Regions from separate parts of the Homo sapiens genome. Here all the other regions are linked to region 1. The links are contacts of gene promoters, found by promoter capture Hi-C in blood cells and fetal thymus (Javierre and others, 2016). All regions are on one chromosome and are shown on one strand. The core of a region is centred on a gene start or on the middle of the fragment in contact, and the rest is flanking DNA. Distances in the headings are between cores, read along the strand shown.

Region 1 (2,731 bases), core at 232-2,731:
GTTTAAGGGGAAAGGCTTTTTTCTTTGCCAACTGCTCCTGAACCAGCTCTTCTCGTCATTATTCACTTGGTTGCCATCAGCATTCAAACACTGATTATGCCACTGTCACAGGAAGTGTGTGCTAGTTAGGAAATCAGATCAAAACTGAAACTCTAGAATCAGTCCTTAAGTTTTAGTTTTATTTTCCCTGAAAACATTCCTCCTTAAACGAAATTTTTTTCTTTTTTTTTGGTTTTTGAGACGGAGTTTCGCTCTTGTTGCCCAGGCTGGAGTGCAATGGCGCGATCTTGGCTCACGGCAACCTCTGCCTCCCAGGTTCAAGGGATTCTCCTGCCTCGGCCTCCCGAATAGCTGGGATTACAGGCATGCGCCACCACGCCCGGCTAATTTTGTATTTTTAAAAGAGACGGGGTTTCTCCATGTTGGTCAGGCTGCTCTCGAACTCCTGACCTCAGGTGATCCGCCCGCCTAGGCCTCCCAAAGTGCTGGGATTACAGGCGTGAGCCACTGCGCCCAGCCACTAAATTTCATAAATGGTAAGATATCCAACCTTACCAAATGTATCTATAGTTTATATTTTTGACAGGCTGCATAATAAATCCATAGGGCTCTATCTGAATTTCAACAAGGATTATTCAGTAAGAAGAAAATGAGTGTTGTATCTCAGCTGCGCCCATCAGCTCTATTCCCCGAATGACCGTGAGCTTGAAGGAAAGCCATTTAACGCACACGGTGCCGATGGGTGTCTTCTGCTTGGCGACATCGTGGGCTTTATCCTACTTCCTCAAGGAGGCATAAAAGATGATTTTTTCCCCACAACAATGAGCTTTCTTACAGACATATTAAACGGAAATGAAATGTGCTACTCATTCCCAGCGTTGCAGAACCAGGTGAGGCCCGAGACAAAGGCGCGGGATGGCCGGGACGCCAGCCCGGGGCGGAGGGGCTGGCGGCGGGAGCGTCACCCGCACCTCCGCGGGGAGACGTCCAAGCCTCGGCGCTCCCAGCCCGGCCGCCGCGCCCCGCTCCAGGCTGGGGCTGGGGCTGGGGTCAGCCCCGCAGAGCAAGGGGCGGTGATGTCATCCTCTCGGCGAGCTTGGCTGCGGGCCGGAGGCGAGGCCCTGCGGGAAGGTTTCTCGGCACCGCTCACCGGGGCGCTCTCTCCGAGTCACGCCCGGTGCCTCCCCGCGCGGGAAGAAGCTCAATCCCCTTCCCGCCCCCCGCGCCGGGGAAACGGCGGCAATGTCCGGGCAGAATGGGGCCGGGCGGAGCGCCGGCGACCGGGAAGCTCAGGCCGTGGGCTGCCGAGACTGGCCTAGCTGAAGGAGGTGGGCAGCCAGGCCTTTCCGGGCAGGACCGCGTGTCCTTCCGCGGCCAGGGCTCTAGGCCTCCACCCTTCCGTCGCCGACCCGGCGGTTACCTCCTCCGCAGCCTGGTAGTCTTCCATCTTTCCTCCGGCGCGTCCCCTCCGGCTCCCTGAGTGGCGCGGACTGCGCAGGCGCACTCAGGCCCCGCCCCGGACCTGCCACGCCCCTCTCCTCTCGCGCCTGCCTCGCCCATGCCCAGCTCCCGGGCCCCGCCCTTCGCTGCCCGGACCCTCAGTGACCCCATCCCTGGGCGGGGCCCGTGGGTGGACCCTGAATTCGCCTCTCCTCCTGTCCTCTGGGAGGTGGTAGTTTCCATGGGAATCCGTGAGGGTAGCCGGGCAGCTCCCTAAACCTTAGCAACAGAAACAAAACACACGTACAAAAGGCAGTCCTGGAGGGGAAGCGTGGTCCCGGCCCCTCCTCCGGTTTGTACTGTGTGGATTGACGCGGACGTTCAAACCCGCTCGGACACCTGGCAACAAACTCGAAAGTGACTGCTGAAGGCAGTGCGCCCGGTGAGACGTTGTTGCAGTTCCCTTGGGGACTGGGATTGGCATGCTTTAGCTATCTGAACGAAACTTCCCTTTGGGGAGTTAAGTTTTCCAGGTAAATGAGAATTTTTCCTTTAAGCACCATTAAAAAAAAACATTTTGGGTGGAAAATTTTGTAAAATGTGGCACACTTCCTGACTACCTTAACCATAGTGAACTAGACAGACTTTATTTGTATGTGGGTTCTTTATGGAAATTAGGAATTGCACTGGGCTCTGGTAAACTGCCCTCCACGGAAAGCTGGGGCATATGCATCTATTGGCAGGTATTCTGAGGCTCCGAGTTTTGATTTTGGCGTTTGCTTTTTCTGGTTTCGTCATGCACTTGAATTCAGGTTGCTGGAACCCACTTCCCATTCCCCAAGAAAGAGCTGACTGCAAGGGTCCCAGGGATTTGGTAGACCTAAACTTCAAATCCCACATCTAATCCATCAACAACCCTTGTTATTTCTACCCCATATGCTCGGGACCCCAGTTAAAGATTGATATCTCTCATCTGGATTATGACCATCGGACTGTAACCTGGTCGGTCTATCAGGGTCTTATTAGAGCCCTTCAAGAGGAACCTAACCCAACGACTCCTCCCTCCCCTCACCCATTCTGCCCTGCCATAAGTCAATAGTTACTAAGTTGTCAGACTATAGACTAATCTTAGTGATCTTTGGATGACTAAACTTTTAACATATCTTAGCTCAAAATCTCCTACAGAGAGCCATTCTGTGACCACGGCATCTAAGGTAGCCGACCTCCTCATCCTCCACCCCTGCATCCTGTACATTTTCCTCATAGCACTTCTCTCAGTTTGCAAGAACGT
Region 2 (2,700 bases), core at 138-2,637, 440 kb before region 1:
GGAGGTGCTGAGGCAGGAAGATCGCTTGAGCACGAGGTCAAGGCTGTAGTGAGCCGTGATTGCACCACTGCACTTCAGCCTGGGCAACAAAGTGAGACCCTGTGTCAAAAAACATTTTTTTTTTAGACGGAGTCTTGCTGTCTCCCAGGCTGGAGTGCAGTGGCACGATCTTGGCTCACTGCAAGCTCCGCCTCCCGGGTTCACGCCATTCTCCTGCCTCAGCCTCCCAAGTAGCTGGGACTACAGGCACCCACCACCACACCCGGCTAGTTTTTTGTATTTTTAGTAGAGACGGGGTTTCACCGTGTTAGCCAGGATGGTCTCGATCTCCTTACCTCATGATCCACCCGCCTTGGCCTCCCAAAGTGCTGGGATTACAGGCGTGAGGCACCACGCCCAGCCTCAAAAAAAATTTTAAAAGCTAATGACAATCTTCACTTTTTTAAAGAATATAAAAAGAGTTTTGGCTGGGCGTGGTGGCTCACGCCTGTAATCCCAGCACTTTGGGAGGCCAAGGCAGGCAGATCACGAGGTCAGGAGATCGAGACCATCTTGGCTGACACGGCGAAACCCCGTCTCTACTAAAAATACAAAAAACTAGCCGGGCGTGGTGGCGGGCACCTGTAGTCTCAGCTACTTGGGAGGCTGAGATAGGAGAATGGCATGAACCCGGGAGGCAGAGCTTGCAGTATGCAGAGATCACGCCACTGCACTCCAACCCGGGCAACAGAGCAAGACTGTCTCAAAAAAAAAAAAAAAAAAAAAGAGTTCTACTCCCTATCCCAATGAGATCACACTGCTTTGACACTTGCCTTTTCCCTTAATTTTTCATGCTCCTTTATGAAAAACCTGAAGCAGGATTTCTATTTCAGAGGAAAGTTTTTTTTTCTGATTTTAGATGGGGAGCTTTCTAAAAATGTTGATGCCTGGCCTCAGCCCCCAGTCATTCAAATTTAGTTGTTCTGGGATATGACCCAAGCGTCAGCATCTTTAAAAGGCCTGCCTGGTGCTTCTGCTGTGCATTCAGAGCTGAGAACTCCTGGGCCGGTGTGTGCACAATGGAGACTCTGGGTAGGAGGTTTTGTTTTTGGGTTTCGTTCGGTTTCCAGTAGGCTAATCTACCAGCACAGCTGTTTCCTTTTACTGCCAAGGAAATGCTGAGTCTGCCCAGCAAGGAACCAGCTTTTGTTAAAATTCACTAATTAGATAACTGATTCCCCAAGTCGTTGCAGGATCTTATTTATTGACAGTAGCTAGCTTGAGTTGGATCCTTTGGTTAGACGGAGGAAAGTCATTGCAGCACTCATAATTGGTTAAGTTTTTTTTTTTTAAACATAAATTCACTAAGATATTTTAGTCTTGTGTTTATTTACTGTTTACCATGCTTTTGTGTGTGTGTGTGTGTGTGTGTGTGTGTGTGTGTGTGTGTGTGTGAAACAAACTCTTAAGCTATGTCAGCATATCCTTTCTCAGGCAGAGTCTTTCGGAGGTAGATGTCTAATTCAGTATTAACTGGTTTACCTAGCTCTCATCACTCCTCCGGCTCCCTCAAGCCCTCAGTAACATCTGCACTTACATAAGGTATTTGGATGTGTGACTTATATTTTATTAAATTAAGGACAGAAGTTGAGTTTGACACACAAAAACAGGGAGAGCAGAGGCAGGTCCGTGAGAGATAAACAAACACAACTAATTTAGTGACATGAAGAATTCACAGAAATCTTGGAAGGTTTTGAACTTCTGTGGACATGGAATGGAAGGGTTAGTCTTATGTCAGTTTTATCAAACACATTAAATCTGCCGGGCGCGGTGGCTCATGCCTATAATCCCAGCACTTCGGGGGGCCAAGGCGGGTGGATCACGAGGTCAGGGGTTCGAGACCAGCCTGACCAACATGGTGAAACCCCGTCTCTACTAAAAATACAAAAAAATTAGCTGGGCGTGGTAGCGGGCACCTGTAATCCCAGCTACTCAGGAGGCTGAGGCAGGAGAATTGCTTGAACCCGGGAGGCGGAGGTTGCAGTGAGCCGAGATCGTGCCACTGCACTCCAGCCTGGGCAACAGAGAAAAAAACAAACAAAAAAAAACACATTAAATCAGGTGCTATTTGCAGCTGTAATTTGTAACTATTGCACTTTGGATATGGTAGTAGAAGCTACCATGTCTAAAAGTAAATGTTCTATGAGTGTTTAAACCTCTAACTATGACTATACTGGGCAATTGGTCCAAAAGCCACTCTGAAAATTTTCCAGCATAAAGTTGTTATGGTCTTGACTGAGGCAGATATGCCTTTGAGGGCTTCTTAGTCTATATCAGTGCTTTTCAACTTTAAAGTACTTACAAATCATCTGGAAGTCCTTAGAATGCAGATTCCGATTAAGTGGGTGTGGGCTGGGGCCTGAGATTCTGCATTTCTAGAAGGCTTCCAGGGGATGGCAGTGCTGCTGTCTGGCAGGTCACATTTTGAGTAGCTAAGCTCAAACACCCAAAGTGATGGTGTCATAGAGAAATAGAAGTTAAAGAAAAATGTTTAGGCCGGACGCAGTGGCTCAACCCTGTAATCCCAGCATTTTGGGAGGCCAAGGCAGGGGATCACCCGAGCTCAGGAGCTCAAGACCAGCCTGGGCAACATGGCGAAACCCCATCTCTACTAAAAATACAAAAAATTAGCCAGGCGTTGTGGTGCATGCTTGTAATCCC
Region 3 (2,785 bases), core at 268-2,767, 460 kb after region 1:
GGACAACTCACAGTCACGACTTCCTATCTGGTAACACTCATTCCTTTGCAAAATGTTTCTTGATCTCTGTTAAAAGGCAAGTACATGGTAAGGTGCTCTTATTCATGTACTCCTCCAGGTGAATGATTTGATGTCTTCCCTTCCTAAAACCAGGTTTTTATGGGAGAGGAAGAAGTGGGGAGTATGAAGACCCCAGGAAAAGAGTTTTTAAAGAGGAGGAGATCCAATTTCACACCTTTGAGTAGTCCAGCTCTGGAATCCAGTACAGGATTTTTGGAAGATTCACCAAGATCCATCTTTCCTTTTCCTGCTATTCTTTCCAAATAGGTAAAGAAGTAGCTGAGGGAAACGCAGCTTTGTGAGGGAAGCCTGGAGCGTGAGAAATCTGCTCACACTGGATTCTGCCTCGGGCTCGACAGAATGTCACAGCAGACCCGCGATGTGACAGGCTCACTGGTGTACACACGGCTGTGTCGGCCATGGCCCTGTCAGGTGGGTCAGGAAGGAAAGGCCCCCCAGTTCATACTTCTGAGTCATCGGTCAGATAGGAATCACGTTCTTTTTTTTTTTTTTTTTTTTTTCACTCACACAGCTACCCTGAAGCTTCAGATCTACTTCCTGGCTCAGACCACCTGCAACACACTGGTTTGGCATCTAGCGGGTTGTGCTTGCAGAACAGCAGGCTGGCTCCGTGCACCTGCTCAGTGGGGCTGGGCTTTAGCAACCTGCATTGAGGCTGCTCTTCTTAACTTTTCTCTAACTTGCTTCATGAAAGTTAATTCTGCTGGGACCCCACGAGGCAGCGGAGAGCCCACTCTGCCCATGATTGGTGCCCTGGGCTGGCACGCAGAGTTTAATGGAGGAGCCCGGGAGAGAGGGATGCCTGAGAACCAGGGATGTGGGCTGGAGCAGTGCCACCTCCTCTAACTCACCCGCAAGCCCAGCCAACCGGCTAAACCTTCCCCACAGAGCCTCAGTCTCCTTATCTGTAAAATGGGTATGCCTTGTGTTTTCCCCTGCGTTTCCTTGCTCCCCTTGGGAATATGACAGTAGTTGAAGTCAGCTTTCTAAGCCTTGTCTTTTATGAAATGTAATGCTTTATTTTCTCGTGAAAAGAAATGAAGCTATCAGAGACCAGGCGGGAGATTTTTTTGAGCGTAGAGTGAAGAGTTGCTCTTCCTTTCCTGCCCTCAAAATGTTCCTACAACCTTGCTCTTTAATGGGAAGTATTTTTTTTTTCAGACATAGTATTAGAGTGATTCTGTATATCTAACACCTTCATCAAACCCTCTGAGAAACTGGGAACTTAGTGACTTGTGCCTGGTTCAGCTGTTTTCTCCAATGGATAATGTGTGCCTAAGGACAGGGACCACATTCTCTTACTCAGTTTTCTATCCCCAGAGCCCACCTAGAACAGAGCGGGGTGCTTTGTAAGTGTGTGCGAAGTTTCTGTTGAATGAACAAATTAGATGATGTCATGTTCCAGGAGGGCGGGAGCTGCATCTGCTCTGCTCTCCCTTTCTCTCCCAGCCCACGGCTGACCGGAGTCGGTGGCTGATAATGTGACTTCTAATGAGTTCATTCACCAAATACTAAATAAGCAAAATTACAAGTGATTTTCTTATTTTGAGACAGGGTCTCCTTCTGTCTCCTAGGCTGGAGTGCAGTGGCGCAATCAAGGCTCACTGCAGCCTCGACCTCCCTGGCTCAAGCGATCCTCCTGTCTCTGCCTCTGGAGTAGTTGGGAGTACAGGCACACGCTAACATGCCAGGCTAATTTTTTTTTTTTTAAATAAATGGAGTTTTGCCATGTTTCCCAGGCTGATTTTGAACTCCTAGGCTCAAGCGATCTGCCCACCTTGGCCTCCCTAAGTGCTAGGATTACCAGTGTCAGCCACTGCGCCCAGCCCACAAGTGAAAATTTTAAACTATATTTTGTTAGAGAGAGAAGAGGGAACCCGAGGCCTGGATAACATGCAAGATCTTCATAAGACTTCATAGCAACAGCATTCACTTGTCATATTTTGATGATCAAATTGGAGAAAATACCTCTTAAATTCAAACCTAGGGGCAAGGTAACATTTCAAATAGGATTTTTTTTTCCCTCTGTCTATAGTGGATATTTAAAATTTTTCCATTCATTCTTGCACACCTACAGATTACCTGGCACTTGTCCAGTCTTTCTGCAGTCAACATCGCCCAGATTCCATGCAGAACCCTTTGCAGACTCCTGAGGAGGTACAGACAAGGAGTGTCCCTGTCCTCATGGTGCTACATGAAAAGGTACAGACAAGGAGTGTCCCTGTCCTCATGGTGCTACATGAAAAGGCAAGTGACCCAACAGGCAGCATTGGAGAAAGTGCCTAACTGTGGAAAGGCCAGTGGGAGAGGCTCGGTGGAGGAGGAACTTGCTGGACTAGAGAGGTCAGGGAAAGCTTCTTGGAGGAAGTGAGGTATGAGCTGGAAGTAGAAATACCAGGAAGCCCAGGGCAGGCTTGGGAATGGGCCAGGCATGCTCAGGTCCCAGGGCATAGAGTAACAATCTGGCTGGAAGAAGGAATGGAGGAACAAGCTGATAGGAGGGTGATTTCATGTGGACTGGACCCCATGTTCAGGAGGTGACCACATAAGCCAGGATGGGTGGATAGAGTTAGCTAATCCTGGAAGAAATCATGGAATAAAATTAAATATATGCATTGCTGGCTACAGATCCAGTTCCTCCTTCCCGGGTCTCTGTGTCCACCCTTCTTGGGGGCCATCCCACACCTCCCTGCTACTGCCACAA
Region 4 (2,847 bases), core at 30-2,529, 490 kb before region 1:
TAGCCATCGTAACACATTACTCACGTTTGTGGTGATGCTGTGTAAACAAATCTACTGTGCTGCCCGTCCTATAAAAGTCTAGCTCATACAATTACGTATAGTACATAATACTTGATAATAATAAATGTTACTGATTTATGTATTCACTATAGTATACTTTTATTGCTATTTCAGAGTGTACTCCTTCTACCTACCTGTAAAATGCCTAGGGCAGGTCCATCAGGAGGCATCCAGAAGAAAGTGTTGTTATCACAGGAGATGACAGCTCCATGCATGTCACTGCCCCTGAAGACCTCACAGTGGGACAAGATGCGGAGGTGGAGACAGTGATATGGATGATCCTGACCCTGTGTAGGCCTAGGCTAATGGGTTTGTGTTTCATTTTTAACAAAAACATTTAAAAAGTTAAAAAAAAAAATTTTGCTGGCACAGTAGCAAGGCACGTAGTCTCAGCTATTCGGGAGGCTAAAGCAGAAGGATCCCTTGAGCCCAGGAGTTCAAGCCTGCGGCATGCTATGACTGTACCCACGAGTAGCCGCTGCTCTCCAGCCTGGGCGACAGAGCAAGACCTCGTCTCAAAAAGATTTTTTTTTTTGAGGTGGAGTCTCACTCTGTCACCCAGGTTGAAGTGCAGTGGCACAATCTCGGCTCACCGCAAGCTCTACCTCCTGGGTTCACGCCATTCTCTCACCTCAGCCTCCCAAGTAGCTGGGACTACAGGCGCCTGCCACCACGCCCGGGTAATTTTGTTTTTGTATTTTTAGTAGAGATGGGGTTTCGCCATGTTAGCCAGGATGGTCTCAATCTCCTGACCTTGTGATCCACCCACCTCGGCCTCCCAAAGTGCTGGGATTACAGGCGTGAGCTGCCGCGCCCGGCCTCGAAAATATTTTTTAACAGACAAAAGTTTATAGAATAAAGACATAAAGAAAGAAAATATTTTTGTATAGCTATACAACGTGTTTGTGTTTTAAGCTAAGTGTAATTACAAAAGTCAAAAAGTTTTTCAAAAATTTAAGTTCATAAGTTAAAAAAAAAAAATACAGTAAGCTGAGGTTAATTATTAAAGCCAGGACTTTATTTATATTTAGAGACAGGGTCTCAACCACGTTGCCCAGGCTGGCCTCAAACTTCTGGGGTCATGTCATCCTCCTGCCTCAGCCTCCCGAATAGCTGAGACTACAGGCCCACACCACTACATCCAGCTAGGTTAATTATTGAAGAAAAAAATATTGTTTTATAAATATAGTGTAGCTGGGTGCAGTGGTGCATGCCTGTAGTACCAGCTAGTTAGAAGGCTGAGGCAGGAGGATCACTTGCATCCAGGAGTTCAAGGCCAGCCTAGGCAAAACACAGTGAGACTCTGCCTTTAAAGAAAACACAAAGTTCAGCCAGGCACAGTGGCTCACACCTGTAATCTCAACACTCTGGGAGGCCGAGGCGGGCGGATCACCCGAGGTCAGGAATTCAAGACCGGCCTGGCCAACATGGCAAAACCAAGGCTCTACTAAAAATACAAAACTTAGCCAGGCATGGTGGCGGGCGCCTGTAATCCCAGCTACTCAGGAGGCTGAGACAGGAGAATTGCTTGAACCGAGGAGGCAGAGGTTGTAGTGAGACGAGATCATGCCACTACACTCCAGCCAGGGCGACGGAGCAAGACTCCATCTCCGAAAAAAAAAAAAGTGTAATGTAGCCTAAGTACACAGTGTTGATAAAGTCTATAGTAGTGTGCAGTAATGTCCTAGGCCCTCACTCTCACTCACCCAGAGCAACTCCAGGTCCTGTAAGCTCCACTCATGGTAAGTGCCCTATATAAGTGTACCATTTTAAAATTTTATTTACTGTACCTTTTTTTGTTTGGATACGTTTAGGTACACAAATACTTCCCATTGTGTTATAATAGCCTACCGTGTTCAGCACAGTCACATGGCTGCACAGGTTTGGAGCCTAGGAGCAACAGGCTGTCCCATACAGCCTAGGTGTGGAGTAGGCTCTGCCACCCAGGTCTGTGCAAGTGCACTCTGTGATGATTGCACAACAATGAAATCACCTAACAACACATTACTCAGAATGTATCGCCATTATTGACACATGACTGTATATATACATATACATGTATATACACATTTCGGCTTACAAATAATAAATAGCTGCATAATCATATCCAGGCAAGAAACAGAATGTTAACAGAACCCCAGAAACCCACAATGTGTCCCTCCCGGATAATGATCTGTTCTCATCTCTATATATGATTCTGATTTTTATTATAACAATGTGCTTTTCTTTACAGTTTTACCACCTATATATGCATCCTTAAACAACAGAGCTTAGTTTTGCCTGTTTTTGAAATTCATATCAATGGAATCACACTACATGTATTCTTTTGCTCAGCCTTGTATTTGTGAGTTATCCATGTTGTTGCATGTAAAATGTAGTTCCCGCACTTAGATTTTCGTATAGTATGCAATTATCCATTGCATGGATATACTACAACTTACTTATTCACTCTCCCATAGATGGGTATTGAGAACGTTTCTAGTTTGAGTCTGTTACAACAATGCTGTGACATATCTTATACATCTGTACTGTGCATACAGTACGTGTTCCTCTATCTACACGTACAGGTATCTAGAATTACATACCTTCTGATAGTATACATATTCAATTTTACTAGAGAATGACAAACCGTTTTTGCAAAAAGATTAGCCAATGTGTACTCCCATCATCAGCATATGAAAGCTTTTCCTTTCCTAAGAGCAACACCTGAAGTTAACTTTAAATGTTGTTTGTTGTGAATCTCAAAATGAAGATTTCTTTTTTCCTAATCAGATTGACTTACACACT
Region 5 (2,754 bases), core at 97-2,596, 440 kb after region 1:
TCTGGGACTTGGGCAGGCATGCAAGGTGCGATGAAGAAGAGATACCAACTTCACAGAGCTGCTGTTGGCTACTAAATACATCAAGACGTATGAAGCGATAAACCTGGTGCCTGGGCCATAGGAATGATCGACCTTGGTATTAAAATTTGGCATAGGCTAAGTGGAGATGGGTGGTAATGAGGTCATCCTTCATAAGTGTCCAGCGGGGAAGACAAGATTCAGGACAGCCATGGACATTTGGATGTTTATGACACCAGGGAACAAGCCATGATGAGAGCTTTTATACATTTTATCACATGTAAAACGTTTCGTGAATAATTAGGAATAAATATGAATCTTGTTATGTCTGTTTCTATTTTATCAACTTGGATCATTATTAAAGATGTTCTTTTTGCCTGTTTGCCAAATTATTTTGTTTTGAAAACAATTTTATAGCATTGCAATTGTGACAATTTTTTTCAAAATAAGTAACTCATAAAATGAATTTGTTTATTTATTTATTTTTGAGACAAAATATTGCTCTGTTGTCCTGGCTGGAGTGCAGTGGCATGATCTCAGCTCACTGCAACCTCCGCCTCCCGGGTTCAATCCTCAGCCTCCTAAATAGCTGGGATTACAGGCGTGCGCCACCATGCCTGGCTAATTTTCATATTTTTTAGTAGAGATGGGGTTTCACCATGTTGGCCAGGCTGGTCTCGAACTCCTGACCTCAAGTGATCTGCCCGCCTTGGCCTCCCAAAGTGCTGGGATTGCAGGTGTGAGCCACCACACTCAGCTCCATAAAATGAACTTAGATGTACTCAAACTTTCACATCATCTGTAATTACATTAAATAGTGATTGAGAAGAGTTAAAATTTAGTGAATGAATTGAGCTTATGTTTTTTAAAATCTTACTTTAATTTGATATTTTATGTTATACTTACACTAATATTAGCTAATAGTTTACTTAGCTCTGTAATAGCTTTTAGTAGGAAAAGTATTTTGAATGCAAAGGTATGCTGATGTATGTCCCACAGTAAGACACAATTAGACACTGATCGCTCATTATCACCAGTGACCTCTATGATGCCTGATCCAATCCCCAAATCTCAGTGCTCACATTACTTGACTTGGGTATGGGATGTCCATAAGATTCTTTGTCAAATCTGCCTCCTTTTGAGAGCAAAAGGGAGCCTGATAAGTAATAACACCAGGACGAAAGCAGATGTGAGCTGGGACCTTCCTGGGCAAGCCAGTATAAACGACTAACCCTATCCCACAGCAGCATTTGCTGAAGTTGCTCACTCTCTCCTCCTTGATGCACTTTCTTTACTTGGTTCCAAAATGCCACAGTCTCATGATTGTCCTCCCACTCGCAAGCCTCTCATTCTTGGCCTCCTTTGATGATTTCTCCTCTTCTCCCCAACCTTTTAATGTTGAAGTATCCAAGATATGGTCCTTGGTCCCCTTTTCATTTCTCATTACACTCAGGGCTTTAAATATAATCTGTATGTCAATGAGATGGTTTTAAAAAATATGTCCACCAACCCTTGTTGACTGGTTCTAGTGAGTAGATGATGGCAGAAATGATGGGATGTCATTTCCAAGATGAGGTTATAAAACTACTGTGGTTTTTATGTTGGGTACTCTCTCATTCTCTTTCGGCTCACTCATTCTGGGGTAAGCCAGGGGCCATGTGAGGTTCACAGGATGAGGATCTGAGGTTTATTAACAGCCACACAAGTGGGCGTGGAAGTGGATCTTCCAAGACCTGCACCACCTGTGTGAGTGAACTTGGAAGCTGATCCTTCCTCAAACTCGCCTTCAAATGAGGTAATGAGGTCATCCTCATTACCTACTAGACTACCTGTTAGACAGGACTGCAGCCCTGTCTAACACCTTGACTGCAGTTCTAAACCAGAACCACTCAGCTACATGGCTCTCAGAAACCCAACCCACAGAAACTGTGGGTTAATAAATGATCCTTGTTGTAAGCTGCCAAATCTTGGAGCAAACTTGTCCAGCAATAGAAAACTAATATGGGCGACTCCAATATCCAACTGCCTCCCACCATTTTCCTTCAGACGTCTAACAGCATCTCGAGCCCACACGTCCAACACTGAACTGCTGATCTCACAGGTCCAGAACCTGCTTCACTCCACCCTTTCTCATCTCAGTGGACGGCAACTTCATCCTTTATTATATTATAACTCTGTGACTTGGGCAAGCATGCAAGGTGCGATGAAGAAGTGATACCAACTTCACAGAGCTGCTGTTGGCTACTAAATACATCAAGATGTGAATTCCAGGCCAGGGAATTTCAGTCCTCTTTGATTTTTCCCAAAAGGGGAGAAAGCCCCACCTCCAATTTGGCAGGTTGGTCTCACCTTCAAAATGAACTAAGAATCCAGTCCCGTCTTACCGCCTCAGCTGCAGTTTCTCCAGTCTGAGCCACCATCATCCCATGCCTGGATTTTCTGCAGTCATCTTCTAACACTTCCCCTTCTTCCTACCCCTGGCATCTCCCTGAGCCCTACACTATTTTCAGCAAAGCAGCCAGACCGAATCTTTTAACACAGAAGTGAGATCATATTATTACTCTGCTGTCATTTTTTTCAATGGCTTTCCATCTCACTCAGCAAGGAAAACAAGCCAAAGCCCTGCCAAGGCCCATGAAACTCTGTTTGATCTGCCGCCCGCCACCTGCTGACCTCCTCCTCTGTCCTCCTGCTCTTGCTCCCTCCCCTCCATCCCTGCAGGCCCGCCTGCAATTC
Region 6 (2,922 bases), core at 265-2,764, 500 kb after region 1:
GGCTGTTATTTCCTTTCTCCCTCCAAATCTTGCACAATGATCACTTTTGTGGCCACCCTAACTAGAAACTTCCAGCAAGGATGTAGTAGCTGTCCGTTCTCACACTGCTAATAAAGACATACCTGAGACTGGGTAATTTATAAAGAAAAGAGGCTTAATTGACTCATAGTTTTGCATGGCTGGGGAGGCCTCAGGAAACTTACAATCATGGTGAAGGGGAAGCAAACGCTTCCTTCTTCACGTGGCAGTAGGGGAGAGAAAGAGAGCCAAGTGAAGGGGGAAGCCCCTTATAAAACCATCAGAACTCATGAGAACTCACTATCATGAGAATAGTATGGGGGAAACTGCCCCCTTGATTCAATTATCTCCATCTGATCCCGCCCCTGACACATGGGGATTATTGTAATTCAGGATGAGATTTTGGGTGGGGACACAGCCAAACCATATCAAAAGGAATTTTGGGAAGTGTAGTTTATCCTAGTTGTGTTGACATATTACCAAATCGTCACACCCCTGAATAAACGGTTTTTTTTTTTTTTGCCCCAGGATACCTGTAGTTCTTGTAAATCACGTTTTAGGCCTTTCAAAATGTGCTTTCATTTTGTTTTAACAGCATGTCTATTGATGTATTTTGCTGTTGCAGAATATAACTAGTAATAACATTTCATACATGTATTTCCATTTCTTTCTATGTATGCTTTAAAATGGATACATGCATATATGGTTTTATGCCCTTATTTGTAACTTTATACCTTTATATATTTTTCATGTCTTTAAAAATTATGTATAAACTGAATTTTAATAGCTAAATATGTAATCAGATACATGTACTAAATTTTATACTATCATCCCCCCATTATTGGATTTTTAGGTTCTTTTTTTTTTTATTTGAGACAGGGTTTCACTCTGTCACCCAAGCTGGAGTGTGATAGTGTGAGCACAGTTCACCGCAGCCTCAACCTCCCACACTCAAGTGATCCTCCCACCTCAGCCACTGGAATAGCTGGGACTACAGGCACATGCCACCATGCCTAGCTAATTTTTTTGATAAAGATGGGGTTTCATTACATTGCCCAGACTTAATTTTCCACTTTTCAAGTGGTGGAGTGGACATCTTTTTGCATAAATCTGATTATTCCTTAAAATTCACAGAAATTAAATATAGTAAACATCTTAAGTCTCTTGCTACATGTTAATGAATATGTAAAAATTTACTTAAATATTTTGATAGGTTACAATTTATGGTCCCATCAGAAGTACATTTAACTCATACTTTAATTTGGAAAGAATCAATATCTTTATCATATTCGGTCTGAGTATTTTAGAACATAATATATTTCACTGAGGCTCAGAAACTTCCCCTGCCCCCACATTATAACATGTTTGAAATTAGGATTTATTTACAATAGATGATGTTTCATAACTTAATTGGCAGTGTTTTATTTCTTAGTGTTATATACAATAATGGTACATCTTATCATCTATGGCAATTTATATTTGATGAAGAAAGTATCTCTTCATTTAGTTAAGCCCTTTTTTAAAGGTTCTAGATAAAGATCAATAGTTCTCCATTTTAGGTCTCATTAAACAATAAAATTATTCTTAGGTAATGTATGAGTTGATTGCTTTTATAAAGGGAATCTTTTATATTTTAATCTGTAATAGATTATTGTTAATATACATGGGAAAAGCATTAATTTTGTTTATTTACCTTATATTCTTTTTTTGAGATGGGGTCTTGTTCTGTTGTCCAGGCTGAAGTGCAGTGGCACAATCATAGCTCACTGTAGCTTTGAACTCTTGGGCTCAAGCAATCTTCCTGCTTGATCTTCCAATGTGCTGGGATTACAAGCATACACCACCATGGTGCCTGGCTAGTTTTTAAAAAATATATTTTGTAGAGATGGGTCTCACTATGTTGCCCAAGTTGATCTCAAACTTCTGGTCTCAACCAATCCTCCCACCTTAGCCTCCTGAGTTACTGGGATTACAGACGTGAGCTACCAGGTTTGACTCTACCTTATATTCTTATATTCATCTTAAGTCACTGTTCATTTATTTTTCTTTTTAATGACTAAGTCATGGAAAACTTTGGTTTTATTGTTTGGTACAGGTTTGGCTCCACCTAATAATTTGTGAGATTTTGTTTATGCCCAAACATTTTATTGAACACCTCCAAATTGTGGGGAAACTGTTATAGGCTGTGGATACAAAGATGACGAAAATTCTCTTCTTGTCCTCAGGGACTCACAACATAGTAGACTAAAAGACTAGATTATTTTTGTTTCACTAAAATGAAATATGCACTGAATGTATTTGGAATGAAGCCTCTTGAGCAATCTTTGCAGCTGTATGCAGCAGCGGTAATTGCTATAAAGGTGGGCTTTGAAGTACATAAAAATAGCCTTTAGAACATCTGACCCTCCCACTACTTTCTGCACCTTTACTTCTCCTTTGTATTTGAGTTATTACCCTTCAATTACATTTTCCCTCTTTCAAGGAACAACAAACACTGAGTACACCATAACTGATGGTAATTGATATCTCAGGGAACTCTTGCATCTCTAGTAAAATTTTGACTAGTCTTGACTATAAATTTAAACCAAATGAAACCTGACTCTAATGATTTCTTATACTCTGGCTCCAAATATTTAATCTATTTGGGAAATATAGTCCATTTTCTGCTGCTATAACAGAATACCTGAGCTTAAGTAATTTATAATAAACAGAAATTAATTGGCTTACACTTCTGGAGGCTGGGAAGACCAAGATCAAGGTACCAGCATCGGGTGAGGGCCTTTTTGTTGTGTCATTTTAGAAGTTAATCCTTGAATAGTTCATATAAACATGTTATAGAACGTTTAAAAACCTTTCTTCCTATGTTTATTAGTAGCGGTAGAAGTGGGTTTGGTGATCAGTCAG
Region 7 (2,911 bases), core at 121-2,620, 460 kb before region 1:
TGGTTTTCAGCACCATCAGGTCATTTAAGCTCTTCTCTACACTGGTTATTCTAGTTAACCATTCGTCTAAACTTTTTTCAAGGTTTTTAGCTTCCTTGCGATGGGTAGAACATCCTCCTTTAACTCACAGAAGTTTGTTATTACCGACCTTCTGAAGCCAACTTCTGTCATCTCGTCAAACTCATTCTCCATCCAGTTTTCTTCCCTTGCTGGTGAGGAGTTGTGTTCCTTTGGAAGAGAAGAGGTGTTCTGGTTTTTGGAATTTTCAGCCTTTCTGCTCTGGTTTCTCCCCATCTCTGTGGTTTTATCTATCTTTGGTCTTTGATGTTGGTGACCTATGGATGGGGTTTTGGTGTGGATGTCCTTTTTGGTGATGTTGATGCTACTCCTTTCTGTTTGTTAGTTTTCCTTCTAACAGACAGGACCCTCAGCTGCAGGTCTGTTGGAGTTTGCTGGAGGTCCACTCCAGACCCTGTTTGCCTGGGTATCACCAGTGGAGGCTGCAGAACAGTAAATATTGCTGCCTGATCCTTCCTCTGGAAGCTTCATCGTAGAGGGGCACCTGCCTGTATGAGGTGTCTGTCAGCCCCTACTGGGAGGTGTCTCCCAGTCAGGCTACATGGGGGTCAGGGACCCATTTGAAGAGGCAGTCTATCCATTATCGGAGCTCAAATGCCATGCTGGGAGAACCACTGCTCTCTTCAGAGCTGTCAGGCAGGGACGTTTAAGTCTGGAGAAGCTGTGTGCTGCCTTTTGTTCAGATATGTCCTGCCTTCAGAGGTGGAATCTAGAGAGGCAGTAGGCCTTGCTGAGCTGCAGTGGACTCTGCCCAATTTGAGCTTCCCTGCTGCTTTGTTTACACTGTGAGCATGGAACCGCCTACTCAAGCCTCAGCAATGGCGGTCACCCCTCCCCCCACCAAGCTCCGGTGTCCCAAGTCAATCTCAGACGCTGCGCTAGCAGCAAGCAAGGCTCCGTGGGCGTGGGACCCACCGAGCCAGGCACAGGAGGGGATCTCCTGGTCCGCTTGTTGCGAAGACAGTGGGAAAAGTGCAGCATTTGGGCTGGAGTGTATTGCTCCTCCAGGTATAGTCACTCATAGCTTCCCTTGGCTAGGAAAGGGAAATCCCCTGACCCCTTGCACTTCCTGGGTGAGGCGACACCCTGCCCTGCTTCGGCTCGCCCTCCATGGGCTGCACCCACTGTCCAACCAGTCCCAATGAGATGAACCAGGTACCTCAGTTGGAAATGCAGAAATCACCTGTCTTCTGTGTCGATCTTGCTGGGAGCTGTACACCAGAGCTGTTCCTATTTGGCCATCTTGGAAGTGACTCAGTTGTTCAGCTTTATTTTCCAAGGTGGGACACTCCACAACCTTGGTTTGATACTTAGATTTCCTAAGTAAAAGGCATGGTTACACATGAGAGCACAGAAGAATGGCTATTTTCTTTGTATAATTAAAGCCTTGGGGTTAGCGGGTACATCACCAGCAAGGTAGTGATTTGGGTTTTCTGATCAGTGGGACAAGAAAAGGAAAAAAAAAAGGAAAAACATGTGAAGGAGGAGCCGCATCGAATTCCTGTTCTCATTTCTAGTTAGAAGCCTGAGAAGTTGAGAGGTTGAGTAACTTTATACATTATACATATTTTGGTTGGCAGAGCTGGGGTCTGGGGCTAGGCTTTCTGGGTCCAGTACTCTCTTTAGACTTTTGTGTCTTTGTAACAGTAAAACCCCTATTATATGTTTTCTTGGGAAAATGGTAGCTGTGTTTCTGGTTAACTTAATGTCTCCTATGGTGTCTCTTCTCTTAAGACCCTACTCATGTACCAAATTGTTATTGAGCACCTATAATGTTCTGGGCTCTAATCTAGACACCCATATCTCAGATTGAACAAAACCCAGACTCAGAAAACACTTTGGAAAATGCTTTTAAAGGGGAAATAAACCTAAGACAGTCTACTCCCAGGATATATGGAATTTATGGAGTAATACTTAAAAATTTTTTAAGTAATATCTGTTGGCCAGTTATTATCAAGAAAGATAGTTTACCATTGACTAAGCCAAGATTGTTCTGATGGATTGTCAGTGCTGACAGCTTTGACCAGACTATTTTACAGCTCACTGCATCATCCTGGTTACCATTATACCATTATCATGCTATAATCCTTTTCAGAGTCATACTTTATAGGAGCTATACTAAGCTTCTTTAGGAGAAGGTTTCATGATATCTGCCCTTCACACTTCCAGGGCAAAGTTGTTTCTTTTCTGTACAATAGCCTTGATCCTGGGACTTCAAGTATGTATATATGCTCTTGGCTTTGGGTTTTGTTTTTTTTTCTGCTACTCTCAATATAGAAGTGGAATGGCTCTGTGTTCAGATAGGAATATTCCAGGCTCTTTGTGTTTCATGACAAAATGTCCCTTAAACTTTGAGTGTCTTTTTTTTTTTTTTAATAATTAAAGAGTCTTTTTAAATCATTACATGTTATCTTTACTTCAGGTACATGCTTGAAAATTCAATCTCAAATTGTCTTTCAAAAGTTTGAGGCATGCCAGACACGGTGGCACACGCCTGTAATCCCAACACTGGGAAGCCGAGGCTGGAGGATCGCCCAAGCCCAGGAGTTCAAGACCAGCCTGAGCAATGTGGTGAAACCCCATTTCTACAAAAAATACAAAAATTAGCCAGGCATGGTGGCGTGCGCCTGTAGACCCAGTTAGTCAGGAGGCTGAGGTGGGAGGATTACCTCATCCCTAGGAGGTTGAGGCTGCAGTGAATTGGGATTGTGCCACTGCACTCCAGCCTAGGCAACAGAGTGAGGCCCTGTCTCAAAAAAAAAAAAAAAAAAAGTTTGAAGCGATTGATATTAAAGCGTTATTTCAGTGTTCACTGGCCAGTCATTCCTCTAAG

Evidence for each region. Contacts are between HindIII fragments. The CHiCAGO score rates a contact against its expected background, and 5 or more counts as called.
Region 2: a contact is called between a fragment that was not itself captured here and the fragment with the promoter of DYNLT1 in region 1, in 11 of 17 cell types (megakaryocytes, M2 macrophages, naive B cells and 8 more). The highest score is 13.5, in megakaryocytes.
Region 3: a contact is called between a fragment that was not itself captured here and the fragment with the promoter of DYNLT1 in region 1, in 9 of 17 cell types (neutrophils, non-activated CD4 T cells, activated CD4 T cells and 6 more). The highest score is 11.5, in neutrophils.
Region 4: a contact is called between a fragment that was not itself captured here and the fragment with the promoter of DYNLT1 in region 1, in 1 of 17 cell types (M2 macrophages). The highest score is 7.0, in M2 macrophages.
Region 5: a contact is called between a fragment that was not itself captured here and the fragment with the promoter of DYNLT1 in region 1, in 3 of 17 cell types (neutrophils, fetal thymus and total CD8 T cells). The highest score is 9.1, in neutrophils.
Region 6: a fragment that was not itself captured here is called in contact with the fragment with the promoter of DYNLT1 in region 1 in 2 of 17 cell types (neutrophils and total B cells); the score reaches 5.9 in neutrophils.
Region 7: a fragment that was not itself captured here is called in contact with the fragment with the promoter of DYNLT1 in region 1 in 1 of 17 cell types (M2 macrophages); the score reaches 5.9 in M2 macrophages.

Annotation. Positions count from the first base shown.
Region 1 is chr6:158,643,262-158,645,992 of GRCh38, forward strand. DYNLT1 (dynein light chain Tctex-type 1) reads right to left here and starts at 1,482. Exons shown (of 5, transcript NM_006519.4): 1 at 1,421-1,482. The coding sequence starts at 1,447. It also overlaps a transcript of SYTL3 not described here. RefSeq lists an enhancer at 853-1,796 and silencers at 920-1,249, 1,410-1,639. The HindIII fragment of the contact is 7,871 bases long and covers 1-2,731 here.
Region 2 is chr6:158,199,978-158,202,677 of GRCh38, forward strand. No RefSeq gene overlaps it. Among named protein-coding and RNA genes, the nearest start is that of GTF2H5, 33 kb to the left of the region's middle. The HindIII fragment of the contact is 7,369 bases long and covers 1-2,700 here.
Region 3 is chr6:159,107,157-159,109,941 of GRCh38, forward strand. The region is part of intron 1 of LOC112267968; the gene reads right to left. LOC124901449 reads left to right here. Exons shown (of 5, transcript XR_007059837.1): 1 at 1-492; 2 at 593-997; 3 at 2,159-2,785. Among named protein-coding and RNA genes, the nearest start is that of FNDC1, 61 kb to the right of the region's middle. RefSeq lists a silencer at 624-693. The HindIII fragment of the contact is 1,832 bases long and covers 602-2,433 here.
Region 4 is chr6:158,150,845-158,153,691 of GRCh38, forward strand. The region is part of intron 3 of SERAC1 (serine active site containing 1); the gene reads right to left. Among named protein-coding and RNA genes, the nearest start is that of SERAC1, 16 kb to the right of the region's middle. The HindIII fragment of the contact is 2,922 bases long and covers 1-2,740 here.
Region 5 is chr6:159,088,368-159,091,121 of GRCh38, forward strand. All of the region lies in intron 3 of LOC112267968, which reads right to left. Among named protein-coding and RNA genes, the nearest start is that of TAGAP, 45 kb to the left of the region's middle. The HindIII fragment of the contact is 5,565 bases long and covers 1-2,754 here.
Region 6 is chr6:159,143,805-159,146,726 of GRCh38, forward strand. No RefSeq gene overlaps it. Among named protein-coding and RNA genes, the nearest start is that of FNDC1, 24 kb to the right of the region's middle. The HindIII fragment of the contact is 5,231 bases long and covers 1-2,922 here.
Region 7 is chr6:158,182,710-158,185,620 of GRCh38, forward strand. All of the region lies in intron 2 of GTF2H5 (general transcription factor IIH subunit 5), which reads left to right. Among named protein-coding and RNA genes, the nearest start is that of GTF2H5, 16 kb to the left of the region's middle. RefSeq lists enhancers at 495-999, 1,000-1,502. The HindIII fragment of the contact is 1,658 bases long and covers 542-2,199 here.